Regions from separate parts of the Homo sapiens genome. Here region 2 is linked to region 1. Evidence: promoter capture Hi-C in human tissues and cell types (Jung and others, 2019). All regions are on one chromosome and are shown on one strand. The core of a region is centred on a gene start or on the middle of the fragment in contact, and the rest is flanking DNA. Distances in the headings are between cores, read along the strand shown.

Region 1 (4,624 bases), core at 764-3,263:
CCTATGGTTCAACTCTCACGTGGTCCAGCTCACCTGGGTTGACTGTGAGCCCCACCTGGCACACCTGCTGTTGTTAATCTGCACCTGCAACTAGCAAAGGGGGGTCTGGAATTCTTCCGGGTTCAGTCAGCCTGTGATCCCACACCTCTGTCTGTACAACCTCCGCTCCCCACTCCAACACACACAGAGCCTGCCCCAGCCTACCCTGCACCAGACCCTCTGTACCGGTTTTTCTTGGGATGGAGGTAGAGAGGGACGGAGGCGAGAGGGGGCTGAACTGGAACTGGATTAAACTTTGCCATCTGCCTGTCGCCCTGAAAACTTCATTTCTGTTTGCATGCCATATATATATTTTTTTATATGTGGTCTTTTCTTTTTTTTTTTTTTTGAGATGGAGTCTCGCTCTGTCGCAATGGTGCAATCTCGGCTCACTGCAACCTCCGCCTCCCGGGTTCAAGCGATTCTCCTGCCTCAGCCTGCCAAGTAGCTGGGACTACAGGCACGCGCCACCATGCCCAGCTAATTTTTGTATTTTTAGTGGAGACGGGGTTTCACCATGTTGGCCAGGGTGTTCTCGATCTCCTGACCTCGTGATCCGCCTGCTTCAGCCTCCCAAAGTGCTGGAATTACAGGCGTGAGCCACCACGCCCGGCCGATATGTGGTCTTACTCTGTCACCCAGGCTGGGGTGCAAAGGCGTGATCTTGGTTCACTGCAAACTCCGCCTCCTGGGCTCAGACAATTCTCCCACCTCAGCCTCTGGAATAGCTGGGACTGCTAGTAGCTGCCACCACGCCTCGCTAACTTTCGTTTTTGGTTTTGTTTGTTTGTTTGTTTGTTTGTTTGTTTTGTTTGTTTTGAGATGGACTCTTGCTCTGTTGCCCAGGCTGGGGTGTAGTGGCTCGATCTCAGCACACGGCCACCTCTGCCTACCGGTTTCAAGCAATTATCCTGCCTCAGCCTCCCAAGTAGCTGGGATTACAGGCGCTTACCACAACGCCCAGCTAATTTTTTTGTTGTTGTTGTATTTTTAGTAGAGACGGGGTTTCACCATGTTGGCCAGGCTGGTCTCAAACTCCTGACCTCAGGTGATCCAACCGCCTCGGCCTCCCAAAGTGCTGGGATTACAGGTGTGAGCCACTGCGCCCGGCCTTGCACACCATCTTTTTTTTTTTTTTTTTTTTTTTTTTTGACACAGAGTTTTGCTCTTGTTGCCCAGGCTGGAGTGCAATGGCACAATCTCGGCTCACCGCAACCTCCACCTCCCAGGTTCAAGCGATTCTCCTGCCTCAGCCTCCCGAGTAGCTGGGATTACAGGCATGCACCACCACACCAGGCTAATTTTTGTATTTTTAGTAGAGACGGGGTTTCTCCATGTTGGTCAGGCTGGTCTCGAACTCCTGACCTCAGGTGATCCAACCGCCTCGGCCTCCCAAAGTGCTGGGATTACAGGTGTGAGCCACCGCTCCCGGCCTTGCACACCATCTTAAGTGTGACGCCACACTGCCCTTCACAGCCTTGGGGCTCTGCCCAGACCAGGAGGAATGGGGAGGGGGTCTTTGACCCTACCCCAGGCTTAGCCCCAGAGAGGAGGAAAGAGTGGCAGGCCAGGCAGGGAGGGGCTCCAGGGTGTGGCCTGGGTTTTTCAGTGGGATGGGGGAGGGGTTGCTTATGAGCCTGGGTGGGTTCTTGGTAGGTGGTGGGCTTCCTAGAGGAGGCGGTGGGAGGGCAGGGGCAAAGAGGGTGAGCGGTCCTCAGTTCGTCCGTCTTCCCGGGGGACTCTCTGACCCTTTCTGGTCCGTGCTGCGGCCGGCGTGGCCCGGAGACTAGCCCCTCAACCCCGAGGTGGGGTGGACCCGGGTGCTCCGCGGCCACAGCCCCTCCCCGCCTCTAGAAGCGCAGTCCCGCGGCTCGCCCGCCGCTCGCGAGGGCCGCACTTTGCCCTCGGTCCCTAGCGGCGCCTGGCCACGCCCCCGGCGGGTGGAGTCGGGCGGGGCGCCGGGCAGGTTCCTCTGCGTTCCGCGGCGGCGGCAGCGGCGGCGACGGCGACATGGAGAGCGGGGCCTACGGCGCGGCCAAGGCGGGCGGCTCCTTCGACCTGCGGCGCTTCCTGACGCAGCCGCAGGTGGTGGCGCGCGCCGTGTGCTTGGTGAGCCCGGGGAGGGCGGGCCGAGGGCACCCTGGGGACCCCCTCTCCGTCGCCAGGCCCGGCGGGGCCCCTAGCCCACGAGCGCGACAGGTGGCGGCGGCCGCGTCCGGGGCCTGGCGGCGAGCGGGGCCGGCGTCCAGCGTCCCGGGCCCCGCCTTCCCGCCCTCCACAGTCTGTCCCGCTGTCCCCTCCCGGTCCCGGGTCCCGCCACCCACCCCACCCCCAGCCTCGCGCCCCGACGCGGGGTGTCCGGATCTCCGCAGGGAGCGGGCCCCTGCCTCGCTGGCAGTGGGAGGAGTTTGGGGGCGGCTCCCGGACAGGTGGCCCGCACGCCGCGACTCCCAGATTGGGGAGTTCACCGGGACGGGGTTTTCCGAAGCCACGTGGGGTAAGGGAGGGGGCGGGGGGCGACCCAACGCCCGGAAACAGGGTGTCCTTCCCACTCGGGGCAGGCCACGGGTCCGCCTTCCCACCCGAAGTTGAGGGACCCCAAGATGTACCCCCTCCCTGTAAGGTGGGCAATACCTCCAAAACCAGGTTTTGTGTGTGTGTGTGTGTGGCGGGGAGGGGGCCTGTTCTTGGACAGCCAGCCCTGAAAGCTGGAGGGGGTGGCATGAGGGGGCAGGCAGAGGTGGGCCTGCTGTGCCCAGACCATGCCTGGGCCTGGAGCTTCTGAGGTCCTCCAGGGCGCCCACACCAGCTCCCAGCCAGGCTGTGGGATCTGATCGCCTCTGTCCTGGGCTGTGTCCAAGAATCAGGTGCCCAGTGGGTCGGGATGGCAGTGCCAGGAGTCCTGGATGGGCACCCTGCTCCCATCATCCCGGAGATCCGGCTTCATCTCCATCTGGGGGCGGGGCCTGTGACTGCCAGCTCCAGAGCCCTATGGAGAGCTCCCTGGGACAACAGGGCAGGACTGGCAGGGGAGAGTCCTGGGGCCATCCCAGAGGGATCCTGATGCTCACAGACCTGTCCCACACCTGCTGAGGTGGAGCAGGCGTGGGTGGTGGCCTTCAAGTTTAGGGAGGTGGTATGGGGCTCTTCCCAAGGGGCTGGAGCTCCCCTACATCCACCCTGGGTCCTCCAGGTGTCTGAGTTCAGAGCTGTATCCACAGGCCTGAGTTAGTCCCCTTGTAGTGCCCTGTGCATGCAGGGCCCTCTGTGGGGTGGGAGACAGACTGGGAGGGACCAGGATGCCACAGAGGCTGCAAGTCCTTGTGTGGAGACAGCTGGCCAGGCTGAACCAGGGAGGGTTCCAGGGGTTCCAGGAGGTGAAGACACAGGGGCGCCAGCATGGCCTTCCCAAGAGGGCCTGTCCACCTTCACCAAGGTGTTCAGGCAGAGGCTGGGTGCTGTAGAAGTGACTTGGGCTGAAGGTGACGGGGGATGGGTAGTCTTTGTGACTTGGCCTGTCTTGGTTAAACCTCTTTCAAGGTGAGGTTGGGCTGGGGATGGAAGGACTGCCCTTCATCCATCAGGTACCTAAGCAGAATGATTCCTGCAGCAGGCCGATGGGGCAGGAGCAGCCCCTGCCTAGGAGGTCCCTGCCCATTCCCCACCCCTCCCCGGTCCAGGATTCCCAGGGGCAGGCCCCCTGGTGCCTGCAGATTCTCATCCTGGGGTGCATCAGGAAGCACTTTGCTCATCAGCTCACCTCCACAAGTTTGGAGGGGCTAAGATGTCAGCCTCCAAAAGGGGACAGCAGGCTGGGCGAGGTGGCTCATGCCTGTAATCCCAGCACTTTGGGAGGCCGAGGAGGGTGGATCACCTGAGGTCAGGAGTTCCAGACCAGCCTGGCCAACATGGTGAAACCCTATCTCTACTAAAAATACGGGTGTGGTGGAGGGCACCTGTAATCCCAGCTACTAGGGAGGCTGAGGCAGAATTGCTTGAACCCAGGAGGCAGAGGATGCAGTGAGCCGAGATCGCACTATTGCACTCCAGCCTGGGCAACAAGAGCAAGACTCCATCTCAAACAACAACAAAAACCCAAAAGGGGACAGCAGTAGTGGGAGAGGCCAGCATCTGTACACCCCATCAGGGTCCCCGCTGTGTGTGCCCCTCAGGCGGCCACCAGCCCTACCAGGTCCTCCCCTCCCGGCAGGTCTTCGCCTTGATCGTGTTCTCCTGCATCTATGGTGAGGGCTACAGCAATGCCCACGAGTCTAAGCAGATGTACTGCGTGTTCAACCGCAACGAGGATGCCTGCCGCTATGGCAGTGCCATCGGGGTGCTGGCCTTCCTGGCCTCGGCCTTCTTCTTGGTGGTCGACGCGTATTTCCCCCAGATCAGCAACGCCACTGACCGCAAGTACCTGGTCATTGGTGACCTGCTCTTCTCAGGTATCTGCCTGTGGCACCTCCATTTGATCTTGGGGGAGGCATTAACTCTAGGGTTCCGCAGCTGGGAGGGTCTCGGCCTCTCTGGGAGGGGCAGGGAGCAGCTCACTCCTCCAGGGCATTTTTAGGAAAGGGTTTTC
Region 2 (4,077 bases), core at 1,578-4,077, 320 kb after region 1:
GCTTCCCCGGAGGACAGAAGGTGGGACCTGGCTGGGATCCAAGTTTACCAAAGGTACCTGCCCTGGGAGTGGCCCTTGAGGGGGCACCGGGTACAGCCCCAGGAATAAACAGAGCGATCAGAGGCGAGGGTGGCAGGAACCTTGCTCTCCGTCACCTTTGGGTCGCCTTAGATTGGCTGAGACACTCCCGGGGGACCTGCTGCCTCGACTGGCCATCAAAACCCCATCACCATGCCCACAAGGGAGCACCAGAAAGAGGGGTCCCGGCTGCTCCTCCTCTGTCTCCGACTCAGGAAGGAAAGGCCAGCGGGTGGGGCATGGGAAGTGAGGAGGTGCAAAGTGGCTAGTGAGTGCCTGGGCCTGCAGTGAGAGGGGACAGGAGGGAACGGGGACTGGCGGGGGGCAGCCGGGTAGGCAGGGCGTGGCCGGACCAGCCTCACCCTGCAGCATGGCTGAGGTCGTGTAGAAGTTGAAGGGCACAGCCTGCACCAGGTAGTTGTCCGTGTTCAGGCTTTCCAGCTTGTCCCCCATCAGCACCGACTTGCCCGTCCCCGCGTTCCCCACCAGCATCACCGGCCAGGACTTCTCCATGAGCAGGTCCATGAAGTAGCGGATGCGGATGGTTTCCGTGGTGTGGACCAAAGAGGCCTGGGGCAGGGGAGGGAAGGGGAGGGAGCTGTGATTCTCAGACACTTCTGCCTCTCGTGGGTGTGCAGGCCATGTTCTACCGAACAGGTCCTAATGTTGAAAATCGGTTGTGTTTGGACATTCCGTGCAGGCGTGTGGAGGGTACTGCACCGATTCCTGCCTCTAAATCACCAGTCGGTGGCCCTGCTTTGGGGACAGTTACCTGCAGTGGGACATCGGGATCCAGCTCAAAGGAGGGCACTTTATCTGTCCAGGGCAGGAACTTTTTTGTGTCAGGATCAATGTAGTAGTCAAAAATCGTTCCCTGCGAGGGGAACTTGATAGTCTTGAATTCGTTGATCCACCATTTACTGAACTCCACTCGATAATCCACAAGCTGTTGAGACACAGAAGTAAAAATCAGGGCCCAGCTAAGCAGGATGCTGAGAGACCCTGTGTGGGTGGCCGGGCCCCCCAGGTGCATCACCTGGTCCTGGAACATGGCGCCACCGAAGGCCCAGAAGCAGGTGAACACGAAGTACAGCTCGTACAGCTCCCTGGGGGAGTCGGGGGGCACGGTCTTCTCCGTGAGCAGGCACTCCAGCAGGTACAGAATCGTTTGGATCACCGTGATCTCCGGCACTGGCGTGATCTTCTTGAACCCAAAGCGCAACTTGTCCAGGCACGTGGGCAGGTACTTGTCAAAGAGGATCATCAGGTTGGCCTTCTCCGACTGCACCTTGCGCCTCTCGATCCAGCTGCTCACCACCCTGGGGGTGACAGGAGGCGCCGATGACACAGCCGCTGCTCTGGGTCTGCCAGTGTCCCTGCCTTGGTAAACGCCCCTCCCTACCTCCACCCAATTCTGCTGGGGCTGCCCTCAGGGTCACCATGCCTGCATGGCAATGGGTCCAAACGAGGGTGCCAGAGGGGCCAGTTGCAGGCCCTGAAAGGGTCGGAGGAGGATGCCAGGGTCGTGGGGGCTGTGCCCTCTCTGGGGTTGCTAGCTATGGGGGTGCTGTAGGTCTAGAACAGTTGGAAGCCATTCTTGCTACCACACGGGAAGCACATACCAAGGGCTGGTGGATGGGGCAGAACAGAAAAGGAGAAAGATCTCATGATGTCATGTGGGGGGCACGAAGGTGGGGACAGTAAGGGAGCAGAAAGGAGAGACAAGGATAGGAGCAGGGACATTTCATTACATCATCTGGACTCCTGAATCCAGCCATGCCTGAAGCACCCCTTGGTGCTTTTTTTTTTTTTTTTTTTTTAAGCTTCAGTTAGTTTGAGTTGAATTTGCCATGTTCAGTGTAAGAGTACAAATCAATACAACCAGCAATCCTTGAAGAGCCGTGCCAGACTGTTGGCCACAGACATCTCTGGGTGGCTCGTGTGGAGGTGGCCCACCACGGCGGTGAGGGGTGTGGACTCTGGGGCCTGACTGCCCAGGCTTGAGTCAGCTCTACCATGGCCAGCTGCTGCTTTAGGCAGGTTACTGCACATGCCTGAGTCCCTGGTTTCTCATCTGTAAACAGGGGTGATGTTTCCATGACCCTCATTTCCAAGGACTACATGGGCTGATATTTTTAAAGCTCAGAGAAGGGGGCCTGGTCCAGGGTAAGTGTTGCCAAATCAGCATCTGCTGAAAGCATCACTAGTGCCTGGCCCCCTCGAGTGCCAGTGAGCTCAGCACGTGCATCATTTCCAGGATGCCCAGGGCCTAAGCAGGAAGCTCCTGTTAACACACACAGCCAGCCTGCCCTGCGCTGACCGGCAGACGTGCCTCTTTAGACAGAGACTCATTTTTTTTCTTCTTCTGAGATGGAGTCTTGCTCTGTAGTGCAGGGGTGCGATCTCGGCTCACTGCAACTTCTGCCTCCTGGGTTCAAGCAATTCTCCTGTTTCGGCCTTCCAAGTAGCTGGGATCACAGGCGTGCACCATCACACCTGGCTAATTTTCATATTTTTAGTAGAGACAGGGTTTCGCCACGTTGGCCAGGCTGGTCTTGAACTCCTGACCTTAGATGATCTGCCCGCCTCAGCTTCCCAAAGTGCTGCGATTACAGACATGAGGCACTGTGCTTGGCCAGACACACACTCTTCTGTGAGTGTGCTCTGGGGGAGCTCCGCTTCTTCCTGAACCTCTATCACAAGAGAGAATTAAGAGCTGAACGTCTTTGCCGCATAGCACCCTGTATTATCCAGCGTAATAGAGTAAACCTTTCTATGTCCCTAAGCGAATCAGGGTGTCTCCATGCCTGTCGCAACTAAGAACTGAATTCCAAGTCCAGTTGGTCTTCAGTAGGGGAGATTGATTTGCAAATCTACGCAGAGGCTGCTGCTTTCTGCCTTCTACTTTGAAGATGTTTGTGTCAAAAATTTGTGATGCTGCCTTGGTAGGAGTCACTGAGTGCGGGTCGGTGTGTGTGCTGTCTCTGATATGCGTAGCACAGGCCCCAGGAGAGACACATGCTTGCGAGACAGGCCGACTTTCTCACCTCTGGTCCATACGGCTTCTTGCCCTGTCCCCAAGGCCATCCTGGGTGCATCCGGCATCCCTGCCCCTGGCAGTTGCCTATAGGAGGGCTGCTCCTGCTGTCTGGGGACCCTGTGTCTGCTTCTCGCCCATTTCCATTCTCTCCTCTGCCAATACTCAGGTCTCCTCCTCCTGCTTCCTCCAGGTCACTCCTTGGAGGTGTCCAGTTCCTGCCTTGGCCCACGCTGCCTTCGTTTCTGGCTCCCTCTTCTCTGCTCCCATAGGGTGTCCCCCTGAGGACTCCACGATCCTGTCTTTTTCCTGTCCCCGTGTCTCAGCAGCTCCTACCCAGGCTTCATTTCAGTTCCCCGGACATTGTCTTTGCCTACCCTGAAAACTCCCACACATGGTACAGTGGGTAGGATGGTGGTGCTACAAAAGAATGTCCACCCAGAACCCAGAATGTGCCCTGATTTGGAGAAAGGGCATTAGCAGATGTCATCAAGGATCTTGAGACAAGATCATCCTGGATTTAGGGTGGACCCTGAATCCAATGACTGTGTCCTTATAAGCAAATGGGAAATTTGGACACAGACATACAGAGAAGGCCACGTGGAGACAGAGGCGGAGATGGGAGGGGTGTGTCCATAAGCCAAGGGATGCCAAGGACCGCCGAGAGCCCCCAGGAGCTGGGAGAGAGGCCTGGGACAGGTTCTCCCGCAGAGCCTCAGAGGGAACCAGCACTGCCTACTCCTTGACTTCTGGCCTCCAGCACTGGGAGAGGATAAATGTCTGTTGTTTGAAGCTGCCCCATTAGTGGTCATTGTTTCAGCAGCTGGAGAATGCTGTATAAGCAGGCAAGTGTTGCTGGAGAAGCCGGCACAGAGGCACCCAGGCTCAGCAGCTCCTGGCCCTGTCCCCATAGGGAACATTCCACTTGGTATCCCTCTCAAACCCTGGCCACACTGTGCTGC

Evidence for each region. The method cuts DNA at HindIII sites, captures the fragments that hold promoters and counts their contacts. A contact is called where the count stands out against the background at its distance.
Region 2: a fragment that was not itself captured here is called in contact with the fragment with the promoter of SYNGR2 in region 1 in 1 of the 25 tissues and cell types used here (pancreas).

The regions. Positions count from the first base shown.
Region 1 is chr17:78,166,568-78,171,191 of GRCh38, forward strand. It overlaps SYNGR2 (synaptogyrin 2), which reads left to right and starts at 2,014. Exons shown (of 4, transcript NM_004710.7): 1 at 2,014-2,148; 2 at 4,250-4,487. The coding sequence starts at 2,050. RefSeq lists silencers at 1,677-2,286, 2,317-2,476. The HindIII fragment of the contact is 23,749 bases long and covers 1-4,624 here.
Region 2 is chr17:78,485,110-78,489,186 of GRCh38, forward strand. It overlaps DNAH17 (dynein axonemal heavy chain 17), which reads right to left. Exons shown (of 81, transcript NM_173628.4): 45 at 1,115-1,397; 46 at 851-1,024; 47 at 441-648. DNAH17-AS1 (DNAH17 antisense RNA 1) reads left to right here. Exons shown (of 6, transcript NR_102401.1): 1 at 1-53. Among named protein-coding and RNA genes, the nearest start is that of DNAH17-AS1, 2.2 kb to the left of the region's middle. The HindIII fragment of the contact is 5,977 bases long and covers 1-4,077 here.